Regions from separate parts of the Homo sapiens genome. Here regions 2 and 3 are each linked to region 1. Evidence: promoter capture Hi-C in 16 types of primary human blood cells and fetal thymus (Javierre and others, 2016). All regions are on one chromosome and are shown on one strand. Each heading gives the region's core, a stretch centred on a gene start or on the middle of the fragment in contact. The rest is flanking DNA. Distances are from core to core; before and after follow the strand shown. Region 1 holds the start of CACNG6 (calcium voltage-gated channel auxiliary subunit gamma 6). Region 2 holds the start of MIR373 (microRNA 373). Region 3 overlaps NLRP12 (NLR family pyrin domain containing 12).

Region 1 (4,212 bases), core at 1,240-3,739:
AAGAGGAAGCTGACACCAGGAACCCAGGCTGTCTCTCCATGGGCACAGGCTGTCTGTGGGCACATGCAGAGTGGGCACGGGCTGTCTCCAGGGCACAGGCACTTCCAGAGGGTGCAGGCTGTCTGGGGTGGGCACAGGCTATCTGAGGACACCAGCTGTGTCTGGAATCACAGGCTGGGTCTGGGGACACAGGCAAGATTTTTCTAGTGACACAGGCTCTCTCTAGAGCTGTAGGCTGGTCTGGGGGGACACAGCGATGCCTGGGAACATTGGCTGTGTGGGGGCAGGGACTTTGGGGGTCATAGAATCATCTGGGACCATAGCCTGGTGTGGAGGTGCAGGCTGATCTGAGGGCACAGGCTGGTGTAAGGATGCAGGCTGGTCTGGGGGTATAGACTGGTCTAGGGGTGCATGTTAGTCTGGGGGTGGAAACTGTAGCTGGGGACACAGGCTCATCTGGGGGTACAGGATAGTCGGGGTACAGGATGGTCTTGGGGCACAGGCTGTAGGCGGGGGCACAAGCTCTCTTTAGAGGTGCAGAATAGGGGTACAGACTCGTCTGAGGGGGTCTCAGGTCACAGCCTGGTCTGGGGGTACAGGATGGCCTGGGGGCACAGACTCCCTGTAGGCACATTCTGGTCTTGGGGTACAGTCTGTAGCAGGAAAGCAAGCTCTAAGGCACAGGTTCTCTGGCGGTAGGCCCGTGAGGGACCTGGGCCATATCTGGGGGATCCCTCTATCTCTCAGCAGTTTCTGAGAGCAGAGGACGAAGTGGGCACTGGCGCTTACTGCGAGGCAAGCTGTCTCCTCCGGGCTCAGGCTTTTGTCCCTGGGGCGGGTTTTCTCCTCGGACACGGGCCCCTCTCCCTCCCTGTCCGTGGGACGCAAGCCCTGCGCTCGGGGCGGCGGCTGCTCACCTCCGGGCAGCTCCGCGGGGCCGCAGGTGTCCCTGTCCACGGGCACGTCCGCCTGCCACAGCCGCTTGGTGCACGCCTTCCACAGCCCCAGGTGGGCCGCTTCGCACACGGCGCTGCCGTTGGCCTTGTAGGTGTTGAGCTCCACCCAGAACTCGGTGCCCACGGACAGCACCGCCAGCGTGGCGCCCACGGCGGCCAGCAGCAGCGCCAGCTTCACCTTCCCCTCGCGCTCGGGCGTCAGCCCCGACCTGCCCTGCCCGTGCGCCCGCCGCCGGCCCGCGGCCCCCCGCCGCCGGTTCTCCTCTTGCAGGAAGAAGTTGGACCACATCATCTTATGGCCGGTGGGGTCGGGAAGGGGGAGGAGGCAGAGCCGGCGAAGGGCCTCGAGGGGCGGGAGCGAGGAGCGGCCTGGGGTCTTGAAGGGGGTGAGGGACTCAGTTTCCCCTGGGTATGAAAGAGGGAGAGCCGAGTCCTGTCTGGAATCTCAAATGCGAAAGTCGAGATTGCTTCTGGGGTTCAGAAGAGAAAAATGATCCCCAGGGCTGGGGAAGCCTCTGGGGTTCAGAGGAGGGTCTAGGTTGCCCTCAAGAACTTGGCAAAGAAGACGGGGCCCAGAGGAAAAACAAGGCCCCCACCCTGAGGTTTAGAGATAGAATTCGGCTTCCCAGGAGGGAGTCCCCCCAAGAGCTCCAGAGGAATGAGAACTGGTGCCCGCTGAAGCTCCCTGCAGCTCCAAGGGGCTGCTTTGGGGTCCCCGCTGGGGGGTTAACAAAAGGGAAACTGGTTTTCCTGAGAGATCTGAGCACCCCACTAGGGCTAAGAGTTTGGGGTACCCAGGAAGGGACCTGAGGTCCTGTGTGTGTTTGGAGGAGATGTGGCCGGGGTTCCCTTGGGCTCAGAGTTTGAGAACAGAGGACTTGGGGACCCTCTGGGATTCGGAAAAGGAAGACCTGGGGTCCCGGGAAGCTCCCAAGGGGAGGTCGGAATTCAATCCGGGTCTCAAGAGAGGCAGTAGGACCCCGGCATCCACAGAAGGAGAAGAACAGAGCCCTGGCTGGGGCTCAGAAGAGGACTGGGCCTCGCTGGAATTCAGGAAAAGGGGATAGGGGTCTCCCCTGCCATTCAGAAAAGATCCGAGGTCTCTACTGAGCCTGGAAAAGGGGCCGGTGGCCGGAAGACAGAGTGGAGTCCAGAGGCGGGAGGCTACGGGGCCTCCCCGAGGGCTGGGGCAGATGGGACCGGGGGCCCTCCTGGGGCTCACACTATGGGGCTGTGGTCCGCACTGCGGCTCGGAAAACCAGGACTGAGTCCCCCCAGGGTTCAAAGGCCAACCGCGACCCGCAAGAGACGCTGCGCCCCTTCGGGATCAGTCCGTCTCCCTCCCCCGGGCTCCCAGGGCCTTCCCGGTCGGGTTCGCGCCAGGCTCAGCCCCAGGCCAGGGCCCCCCCTCGGGGCTCCCACCCCCGACTCCCGAGCAGGGGCCCCTCTCGCTCTCCTGCCTCGGCCCCGCGCCGACCCCAGCTCCGCGCTGCCTCCGAAGCGTCCGGCTGTGCCCGCCACCGCCACCGGCCTGGCCTCCGCCCGCGCCCGGCCTCGTCCCCACCCGCCCACCCCCCACCCTCCACCCTCCACCCTCGGGGCTATTTCGGGCTTGACCCGTAAATAACACCCGCACCTGTCGCCCGGCGCCTGTTGCCATAGGGATCCCGGGTGTTTTAAGGGGACGAGGAAGGGGGGAGGGAGGCCGCCCGGGGAGGAAGGGGCCGAGCCTGATGGGACTTTCATTTCACTAAGGGGCAAGAGCGGCGCCGAGAGTCCCAGCTCCGCAGTCTCCCGGGCAGCAGGAGACGGGCGGGGCAGCAAGTCTGACTGGGGTTACCAGGGAGGAGGGGCGGGAGGCAGGGCCCCGGGTCTCAGGGAGGAGGGCCTGAGGCCAGGAGTCTTGGGTCCCTAAGGGAGAAGAAGCCTCGGTACCCCACTTCTGAGTGGTAGAGGAAGAAGGCCTGGGTACCCAGAATCTTGGATCTGAGAGGAGAGGAACCTGGTCTCCTAGGTCCTGGGCTCCTGAGTCTGAGGGAGGAGGGGCTGGGGGCCTGAACTCCTGGGTCTGAGGGAGGAGGGGCTGGGGTCTGGACTCCTGGGTCTGAGGGAGGAGGGGCTGGGCCTGGGCTCCTGAGTCTGAGGGAGGAGGGACTGGGGCCTGGACTTCTGGGTCTGAGGGAGGAGGGACTGGGGCCTGAACTCCTGGGTCTGAAGGAGGAGGGGCTGGGGGCCTGGACTCCTGGGTCTGAGGGAGGAGGGGCTGGGGGCCTGGACTCCTGGGTCTGAGGGAGGAGGGGTTGGGGGCCTGGGCTCCTGGGTCTGAGGGAGGAGGGGCTGGGGGTCTGGACTCCTGGGTCTGAGGGAGGAGGGGCTGGGGCCTGGACTCCTGGGTCTGAGGGAGGAGGGGCTGGGGGCCTGGGCTCCTGAGTCTGAGGGAGGAGGGGCTGGGGGCCTGGACTTCTGGGTCTGAGGGAGGAGGGACTGGGGCCTGAACTCCTGGGTCTGAAGGAGGAGGGGCTGGGGGCCTGGACTCCTGGGTCTGAGGGAGGAGGGGCTGGGGGCCTGGGCTCCTGGGTCTGAGGGAGGAGGGGCTGGGGGCCTGGGCTCCTGGGTCTGAGGGAGGAGGGGCTGGGGGCCTGGGCTCCTGGGTCTGAGGGAGGAAGGCCTGGGCCTGGACTCCTGGGTCTGAGGGAGGAGGGGGCAGGGGGCCTGGACTCCTGGATCTGAGGGAGGAGGGGCTGGGCCTGGACTCCTGGGTCTGAGGGAGGAGGAGGGCCGGGGAGCCTGGACTCCTGGTCAAGGCGTTGGCAGACCCAGAGTCCTGGGCCTCAGGGAGGAGACTGGGGCCAGAACCCTGGGTCTTGAAGGATGGAAGGCCTGATTTCCATGTTGGAGAAAGCGCAGGCCTCAGGGCAGGGCCGGCTGTCAGGGGCACAGAATGAAAGCAGCACTCCTCTTCATCGAGTTTATTAGACGGGGCACCCCTGGGGGACCTTCCATGCAGTTTCAGCTCCCCCAGGAGCAGGGACAGAGGACAGCCGTGTGGCATGGCGGCAGGGCCTGATCTTCAACCCCTCACCCCCTACCCCTCAGCCCTTCTGTGGACGGCCCAGGTGGGACCCACCTTTCACCAACTCCTTCTTCTCCCACAGTTGGCTGCTCCAGGCAGGCCTGGCGCTGACCTGAGCGAGGCTCTGGTGCACGCTGGGCCTCTCTGCCCACCCCCTGCTCTGGACTTTTCCGATGGAGCACG
Region 2 (4,212 bases), core at 565-3,064, 200 kb after region 1:
CAGGCATGTCAGGATGGCCCCCTGCCTGGAATTCACTGGGCCCTGCCAAGAACTGACACCTACAAGGCCACGTGTAGGCTGGCCATAACCTATTATACACTGTGCTTTCAACAAAAATACCGCCAGATGCGGTGACTCATGCCTGTAATCCAAATACTTTCGGAGGCCAAGGCAGGCAGATCAGCTGAGGTTAGGAGTTCGAGACCAGCCTGGCCAACATGGTGAAACCTACTAAAAATACAAAAATTAGGCTGGGCACGGTGGCTCATGCCTGTAATCCCAGCACTTTGGAGGCCGAAGCGGGCGGATCACTAGGTCAAGAGATCAATACCATCCTGGCTAACACAGTGAAACCCCATCTCTACTAAAAATACAAAAAATTAGCTGGGTGTGGTGGCATGCACCTATAGTCCCAGCTGCTGGGGAGGCTGAGGCGGGAGAATCGCTTGCACCTGGGAGGCAGAGGTTGCAGTGAACCGAGATCGCACTACTGCACTCCAGCCTGGGCGACAGAGCGAGACTCCATCTTAAAAAAAAAAAAAAAAAAAGGGTGTGGTGGCTCACACCTGTAATCCCAGCACTTTGGGAGGCCAAGGAGGGCAGATCACCTGAGGTCGGGAGTTCAAGACCAGCCTGACCAACATGGAGAAACCCTGTCTCTAATAAAAATATAGAATTAACCAGGCGTGATAGCACATGCGGGTAATCCCAGCTACTCGGGAGGCTGAGGCAGGAGAATCACTTGAACCCGGGAGACAGAGGTTGCAGTGAGCAGAGATCACGCCATTGCACTCCAGCCTGGGTGATAGAGACGCCGTCTCAAAAAAAAAAAAAAAAAAAAAAAAAAGAGGAATCCATATTCCCTTGGCTGGGTGCAGAGGCTCACGCTTGTAATCCCAGCACTTTGGGAGGCCAAGGCGGGTGGATCACAAGGTGAGGAGATCAAGACCATCCTGGCCAACATGGTGAAACCCCGTCTCTACTAAAATACAAAAAATTAGCAGGGCGTGGTGGAGGGCGCCTGTAGTCCCAGCTACTCAGGAGGCTGAGGCAGGGGAACCACTTGAACCCAGGAGGCGGAGGTTGCAGTGAGCCGAGATTGTGCCACTGCACTCCAGCCTAGTGACAGAGCAAGACTCTAAAAAAAAAAAAAATGCATATTCCCATTTCAATACACAGAAACCTATATTCCCATTATTAGGAATTCGAACTAAGAATCTTTAAACTATGTCACTGCCCGGTGGGAAATCAGGTCCCCATGCTGTGCTCAGCCCACACACTGGAGATCTACAGACCAGAACCTGCAAGGAGACTGAGGCAGTTTCAGAAAAAGTGACCTTACAACTCCAGAGATCAGATACTGATTCAGTCCTGTAGACATAATTGTCCCATTGGCCAGGTGCAACAGCTCATGTCTAATTCCAGCTCTTTAGAAGGCCAAGAATTTTTACACCAACCTTAAGGTGCCGCCTGAACACAAAAAAATTATCTACTCTATGTACTACTATCTATCTACCCCAGAAGGGGTATTCATGCATAGACCCAGCTACTGAAGCTGAGGAAAAATGCTTGAGTCCAGGAAGTGGAGGCTACACCTAGCTCGACAGAACCGCTACATTCCAGCCTAGATGACATGATCGTCTACAAAAAAGAAACTAAAAATGGCCCACCATTACCACGTAAAACTGTGCCTTAAGCTTTCTGCAATCCCAGCACTTTGGGATAAGAGATTGTTTAGGTTTCAAGACCAGATTGGGCAACATAGTGGGATCCTATCTCTAAATTTTTTAAAAAGTTATTTACCCAATATTCTTTATATGTCTGCATTCAGTCCTGTTTCCACAGCTGCTTCTGAAGCAAACAGCCCTGCTTACAAACCACCCCCACCTACACCCTGCTGGCCATACAGGCTAAACCCTAAACAAGCTTAAGAAACTCAACTAAAGGCTGGGCGCAGTGGCTCAAACCTGTAATCTCAGAATTTTGGGAGGCCAAGGTGGGTGGATCACTTGAGGTCAGGAGTTTAGTGAGACCAGCCCGGCCAACATGGGGAAACGCCATCTGTACTAAAAATCCAAAAAAAATTAGCTGGGCATGGTGGTGGGTGCCTATAATACCAGCTACTCGGGAGGCTGAGGCAAAAGAATCGCTTGAACCTGGGAGGTGGAAGTTGCAGTGAGCCAAGATCATGCCATTGTACTCCAGTCTGGCGACAGAGCGAGACTCCATCTCTTTAAAAAAAAAAAAAAACAAAAAAAAAAACACAAAAACAAAAAACCCTCAACTAACAATCCCCAAGCTGCCCGTAGAAAAGATGACAGGAGGCCCAGGTAGGTCAAATATAAAGAGAAGTCTTACTGGTTACCGTGGCGGACTCCCCACCAGTGGTGGCGGTATTGGGACAGAGGCTACAACTGCTTTATGAATTGCGGGTACAAATAGCAAAACAAAACTCCCTTGAATTTGAGATCTTACTTCAGTTCAGATACTGTGGAGTGGGCAAAGCAGCCGCAAGGGTTTGGAACACCTACAGGGGATAGGAAAACTTACAGGGGATAGTGGCCAGCAGACCCGGAAACCAGTGATAGGGCAAACAGCAACTAAGAACCTACTGAAGGCCCCACGTGGTGGCTCACGCCTATAATCCCAGCACTTTGGGAGGCCGAGGTGGGTGGATCACCTGGGGTCAGGAGTTCCAGAGCAGCCTGGCCAACGTGGAGAAATCCCATCTCTAAAAAATGCAAAAAATTAGCCAGGCGTGGTGGCTTATGCCTGTAATCCCAGCTACTTGGGAGGCGGGGGCAGGAGAATCGCTTAAGCTGGCAGAGGTTGCAGTGAACCAAGATTGCGCCATTGCGCTCCAACCTGAGCGAGAGCACGAGACCATCTGAAGCAAAAAAACCTTCCAAATATGAACTTAGGCCTGGCACTGTGGCTCACACCCATCATCCCAGGGAGGCCACCCAGGGCAAGACAGTAAAGCCCCATCTCTACTAAAGGAGGGATGTTTGATTCCCCCTAAGTTTCAGACCAAGCTGGCCAATGTATGAGACCCCAATTTCTACTAAACATTAGTGGAGCATGGCGGGGACACTCCTGTGGTGCCAGCTACTAAGGGTGGGGTGAGGGGGGGCTTATATGGGAAGATCTTTTGATCTAGGGAGCTCAGGCCTGCAGGGAGCTGTGATGGTGCCACCACACTTCAGCCTGGGTGGTTTTTATTTTTTGAGACAGTTATCGCTGTCACCCAGGCTGGAGTGCAGTGGCACAACCTCGGCTGGCTGCAAGCTCCACCTCCCGGGTTCATGCCCTTTCTGCCTCAGCCTGTGACTACAGGCACCCACCGCCATGCCCGGCTAATGTTTTTGTATTTTTTAGTAGAGATGTGGTTTCACCGTGTGAGCCAGGATGGTCTTGATCTGACCTCATGATCAGCCTGCGTCGGCCTCGGCAGTGCTGCCACTGTGCCCGGCCTTACTTTTTAAACTTGTTTGAAGTTTAAAGAGCAGAACTCTCAAAGAGCATAACTCTAAGTTCTAGCAGGGGTAGAAGGGAAGCACAAAATACTGACAAGTATTTTTAGGCAATGTACTTGGGTCATAGAAGAAGGTTCAGTAACGCCAGACATGAGGCTCATGCCTGTAATCCCAGCACTTGTGGGTGGCAGAGGAACCCAATAGACCAGAAACACATGATGTTGTTCACATTTTATTAAAAAAAAAAGTTAGGAAAAGTGAGACTGTGGCATTGTCCGTGTAGCAGGGTGGAAGCACTCCAGCCCATGCTCTGGCCAAACCCACTTCAAGCCTTACATGCATGCTGCCTACCAAATTCAGGAACAGGACCCCAAATTCCCTTTAAGGCCAACCAGATTCCCCCGACACCCCATCAAGCTTTTCCTGCCCTGTTCATCTGCAGGTGAACCCCGTATCCTGCCCACCCCAGAATATGCCAATTTTTATTATCTAAAATGGAGCATACAGACTGGTGCCCCGCAGAGAAGCCCGGGAACTCCAGGTCATAGCTGAAGCTGCAGTCAGACCCGCAGGCTCCCTTGAAGCAGGATGGTTCGTGATGCCCTACTCAAACAGGGACACCCCAAAATCGAAGCACTTCCCAGTACAGACAAAAAGGAAAGCGCCCCCATTTTGAGTATCCCAGTATGAGCTCCTCGCGAGGATCTGCCATCACTGTGACTTTCTTGCCTACAAG
Region 3 (4,212 bases), core at 1,713-4,212, 180 kb after region 1:
CGGGAGGCGGAGGTTGCAGTGAGCCGAGATCACGCCACTGCACTCCAGCCTGGATGACAAAAGCGAGACTCCATCTCAAAAAAAGAAAAGAAAGAAAAAAGTATCAATTTACTTACTTGTCATATTGTATAATTATATCTAAATGGAAGTGTTACATAGTTATTTTAAGAAATGGAAATAATGTACAAATATAGAATCAAAAGTAAAGTCCCACTTTTCTCCCTCTTCCGCCTAAATCTCTCCCAGCATTGACAATGCATAACCATTTGCCGAGCGTTCTTCCCCGGACTGCATCCGTTTAGTCTACTGAGAGGCAGCTCAGCGTTCCCAAGGAGACAGATGTCTAGCTTTGCTCTTTCTGTCTGTGTGATGCTGGAGAATCGATATGCCCCTGGGCCTCCATCTCCATCTGTAAAACAAGGGCATCAGGCAAGATCGGCAGTTCTCATGTTACTGTGCGTAAGAGTCTCTCGAGACACTTGTGGCCAATGGGGAATCCAAGACCCTCAACCCGTGATTCTGAATCAGCAGGTCTTAGGCAACAGGAATCTGCATTTTGATGTGGCTGGTTCTCGCGGCATGCCTAGGAAACACTGAGGGAGAACATCTCTGAGGCCTTTTTCAGCTGCAATTTTCAAGAATTACCTTTTTTATTTTTATTTATTTATTTTTTTGAGACGGAGTCTCACTCTGTCACCCAGGCCGGAGTGCAGTGGTGCGTTCTCGGCTCACTGCAACCTCCGCCTCCCGGGTTCAAGCGATTCTCCTGCCTCAGCCTCCCGAGTACCTGGGACTACAGGCACCCGCCACCACGCCCGGCTAATTTCGTATTTATAGTAGAGATGGGGTTTCACCATATTAGCCAGGATGGTCTCAATCTCCTGACCTCATGATCCACCCACCTCAGCCTCCCAAAATGTTGGGATTACAGGCGTGAGCCACCGCGCTGGCCTGGATTACCTTTAAAAAAAAAAAATGTGGCCACACCTATAATCCCAGCACTTTGGGAGGCTGAGGCAGGCAGATCACTTGAGCCCAGAAGTTTGAGACTGGTCTAGGCAACATGGCAAAACCCCTTCTCTACAAAATTGACCAGGCACAGTGGTGCATGCCTGCAGACCCAGCTACCTGGGAGGCTGAGATGGGAGGATCACTTAAGCCCAGGAGGTGAAGGCTGCAGTGAGCCAAGATCATGCCACACTACTCCAGCCTGAGCAACAGAGCAAGACCCTCTCTCAAAAAAAAAAAAAAATTGCCAACCAGCTGCAGTGGCTCATGCCTGTAATCCCAGCATGTTGGAGGCTGAGGCACGTGAATCACTTGAGACTAGGAATTTGACAACAGCCTGGCCAACATGGTGAAACCCTGTCTCTACTAAAAATACAAAAATTAGCTGGTCGTGGTTGTACATGCCTGTAATCCCAGCTACTCCGGAGGCTGAGGCAGGAGAATCACTTGAACCCTGGAGGCAGAGGTTGCAGTGAGCCAACATCACACCAGCCTGGACGACACAGTGAGACTCTGTCTCATAAATAAATAAATAAATAAATAGTGCTAAAATACACAAAACATGAAATTTGCCCTCTTTTTCTTTTTTTCTTTGAGATGGAATTTCACTCTTGTTGCCTAGGCTGGAGTGCAGTGGCGCGATCTCGGCTCACTGCAACCTCTGCCTCATGGGTTCAAGCAATTATCCTGCCTCAGCCTCCCAAGTAGCTGGGATTACAGGCATCTGCCACCACGCCCAGCTAATTTTTGTATTTTTAGTAGAGATGGGGTTTCTCCATGTTGGTCAGACTGGTCTTGAACTCCTGACCTCAGGTAATCCACCCACCTTGGCCTCCCAAAGTGCAGGGATTACAGGCATGAGCCACCGCGCCCAGCCTCCTCTTAACCACTTTTTCTTTCTTGAGATGGAGTCTCGCTCCGTCACCAGGCTGGAGTGCAATGATGCGATGTCAGCACACTTCAACCTCTGACTCCCTGGTTCAAGCGATTCTCCTGCCTCAGCCTCCCGAGTAGCTGGGATTACAGGCACGCGCCACCATGCCTGGCTCATTTTTGTATTTTTAATAGAGACAAGGTTTCACCACGTTGGTAAGGCTAGTCTTGAACTCCTGACATCAGGTAATCCCACCTGCCTCGGCCTCCCAAATTGCTGGGACTACAGGTGCCTGCCACCATGCCCAGCTAATTTTTTTTTGTATTTTTAGTAGAGACGGGGTTTCACCGTGTTACCCAGGATGGTCTCGATCTCCTGACCTTGTGATCCACCCGCCTTGGCCTCCCAAAGTGCTGGGATTACAGGCGTGAGCCACCGCGCCCTGGCCCTCTTAACCATTTTTAAGTGTGCTGCTGAGTGTTGTACATTTACACTGATGTGCATTCAATCTGCAGAACTCTTCATCTTGCAAAACAAACTCGATACCCATTAAACAATTCCCTATTTTCCCCTTTCCTCTCAATGATAACCTTCTCCAATTAAAAATTTTTGAGTGGCCGGGTGCAGTAGCTCACGCCTGTAATCCCAGCACTTTGGGAGGCCGAGGCAGGCAGATCACCTGAGGTCAGGAGTTCAAGACCAGCCTGGCCAACATGGTCAAACCGCATCTCTACTAAAAATACAAAAATTATTTTTTTGTATTTTTACCACCACCTGCGTGGTCATGGGTGCCTGTAGTCCCAGCTACTCGGGAGACTGAGGCAGGAGAATCACTTAAACCTGGGAGGTGAAGATTGTAGTGAGCCGAGATCGCGCCACTGCACTCCAGCCTGGGCGACAGAGCGAGACTGTCTCAAATAAATAAAAATAAATAAATAAAATGGTGCCAGATGACTGAATCTACCAGAGCCAGCACTGAACAGAGGAAAGACAACAGTTTATTAGTCACACAGACTCACAGGGAAGGTGTCCCCATATGCCAAGAGGGTCACATGAAGCTACAGAGACTGTTGGGGGGGGCGGGCTGTGTAGTAACAAGAGGGTGGGGTGCCTCCTGGCTCCTTCAAAAGGATGTTCTTTGCTTTCATGAATCATTTCATGGACTAGCAACCAGCAGGGAGGTGAAAACTTATCAGAGTGAGGACCAGATGGGGTGCCGCTGGCTCAGCTGATGGGAGAACTAGCCAGGTGGGAAGACTTTCTCATGGAGTGAGAGCAAAGGAACTCACACTTAGGACTTTGGGGGGCCTTCTGAGGACCAAAGATGCCAAGGAAGGACTCGATGTGTAGAATCTTATGATATATCCAAACGAAGGCCTTTTTTGGGCTGGGCACGATGGCCCATACCACTATTTCCAACACTTCAAGAGGCCAAGGTCGAAAGACTGCTTGAAGCTAGGAGTTCCAGACCAGCCTGGGTAACATACTGAGACCTAATCTCTACCAAAAAAAAAAAAAAAAATTAAAATATTTTTAAGAGACAGAGTCGCCAGGCGCAGTGGCTCACGCCTGTAATCCCAGCACTTTGGGAGGCCGAGTTGGGTGGATCACGAGGTCAGGAGTTCAAGACCAGCCTGACCCACATGGTGAAACCCTGTCTCTACTAAAAATACAAAATAAATTATCCGGGCGTGGTGACACATGCCTGTAGTCCCAGCTACTCAGGAGGCTGAGGCAGGAGAATCACTTGAACCCGGGAGGCAGAGGTTGCAGTGAGCCAAGATTGTGCCACTGCACTCCAGCCTGGGCAACAGAGCCAGACTCCGTCTCGAAAAGAAAAAAGAAAAGATAATGGATGAGATGTGGCCCAGAGCTGACAAGGGAGGAGTCCAGACTGACTCAGAACTTCCCAGTCAAAAAGATTGGTTGGTGCCAGGTGCAGTGGCTCACATCTGTAAACCCAGCACTTTGGGAGGCCAAGGCAGGTGGATCACAAGGTCAGGAGTTCAAGACCAGCCTGGCCAACATAGTGAAACCCCGTCTCTACTAAAAATACAAAAATTAGCCAGGCATTGTGGCGCACACCTGTAATGCCAGCTACTCGTGAGGCTGAGGCAGGAGAATCGCTTGAATTCAGGAGGTGGAGGTTGTGGTGAGCCGAGATCATGCCACTGCATTCCAGCCTGGGCAACAGAGCAAGACTCCGTCTCAAAAAAAAAAAAAAAAAAAAAGACTGATTGGATGGATGGAGGTGCCAATGACCATGAGGGGGACCCAGGGAGGAGGGTGCGCTACAAGGAACAAGGGATGAGCTATTTCCCACACACGGC

Evidence for each region. The method cuts DNA at HindIII sites, captures the fragments that hold promoters and counts their contacts. A CHiCAGO score of 5 or more calls a contact.
Region 2: a fragment that was not itself captured here is called in contact with the fragment with the promoter of CACNG6 in region 1 in 13 of 17 cell types (M1 macrophages, M0 macrophages, M2 macrophages and 10 more); the score reaches 12.1 in M1 macrophages.
Region 3: a contact is called between a fragment that was not itself captured here and the fragment with the promoter of CACNG6 in region 1, in 1 of 17 cell types (erythroblasts). The highest score is 5.0, in erythroblasts.

What each region holds. Positions count from the first base shown.
Region 1 is chr19:53,989,914-53,994,125 of GRCh38, reverse strand. It overlaps CACNG6 (calcium voltage-gated channel auxiliary subunit gamma 6), which reads right to left and starts at 2,489. Exons shown (of 4, transcript NM_145814.2): 1 at 918-2,489. The coding sequence starts at 1,248. It overlaps CACNG8 (calcium voltage-gated channel auxiliary subunit gamma 8), which reads right to left. Exons shown (of 4, transcript NM_031895.6): 4 at 3,911-4,212. The HindIII fragment of the contact is 26,668 bases long and covers 1-4,212 here.
Region 2 is chr19:53,788,652-53,792,863 of GRCh38, reverse strand. It overlaps MIR373 (microRNA 373), which reads right to left and starts at 4,159; the gene lies at 4,091-4,159. RefSeq lists enhancers at 1-217, 218-718. The HindIII fragment of the contact is 229 bases long and covers 1,700-1,928 here.
Region 3 is chr19:53,815,127-53,819,338 of GRCh38, reverse strand. The region is part of intron 1 of NLRP12 (NLR family pyrin domain containing 12); the gene reads left to right. Among named protein-coding and RNA genes, the nearest start is that of NLRP12, 7.1 kb to the left of the region's middle. The HindIII fragment of the contact is 7,313 bases long and covers 1-4,212 here.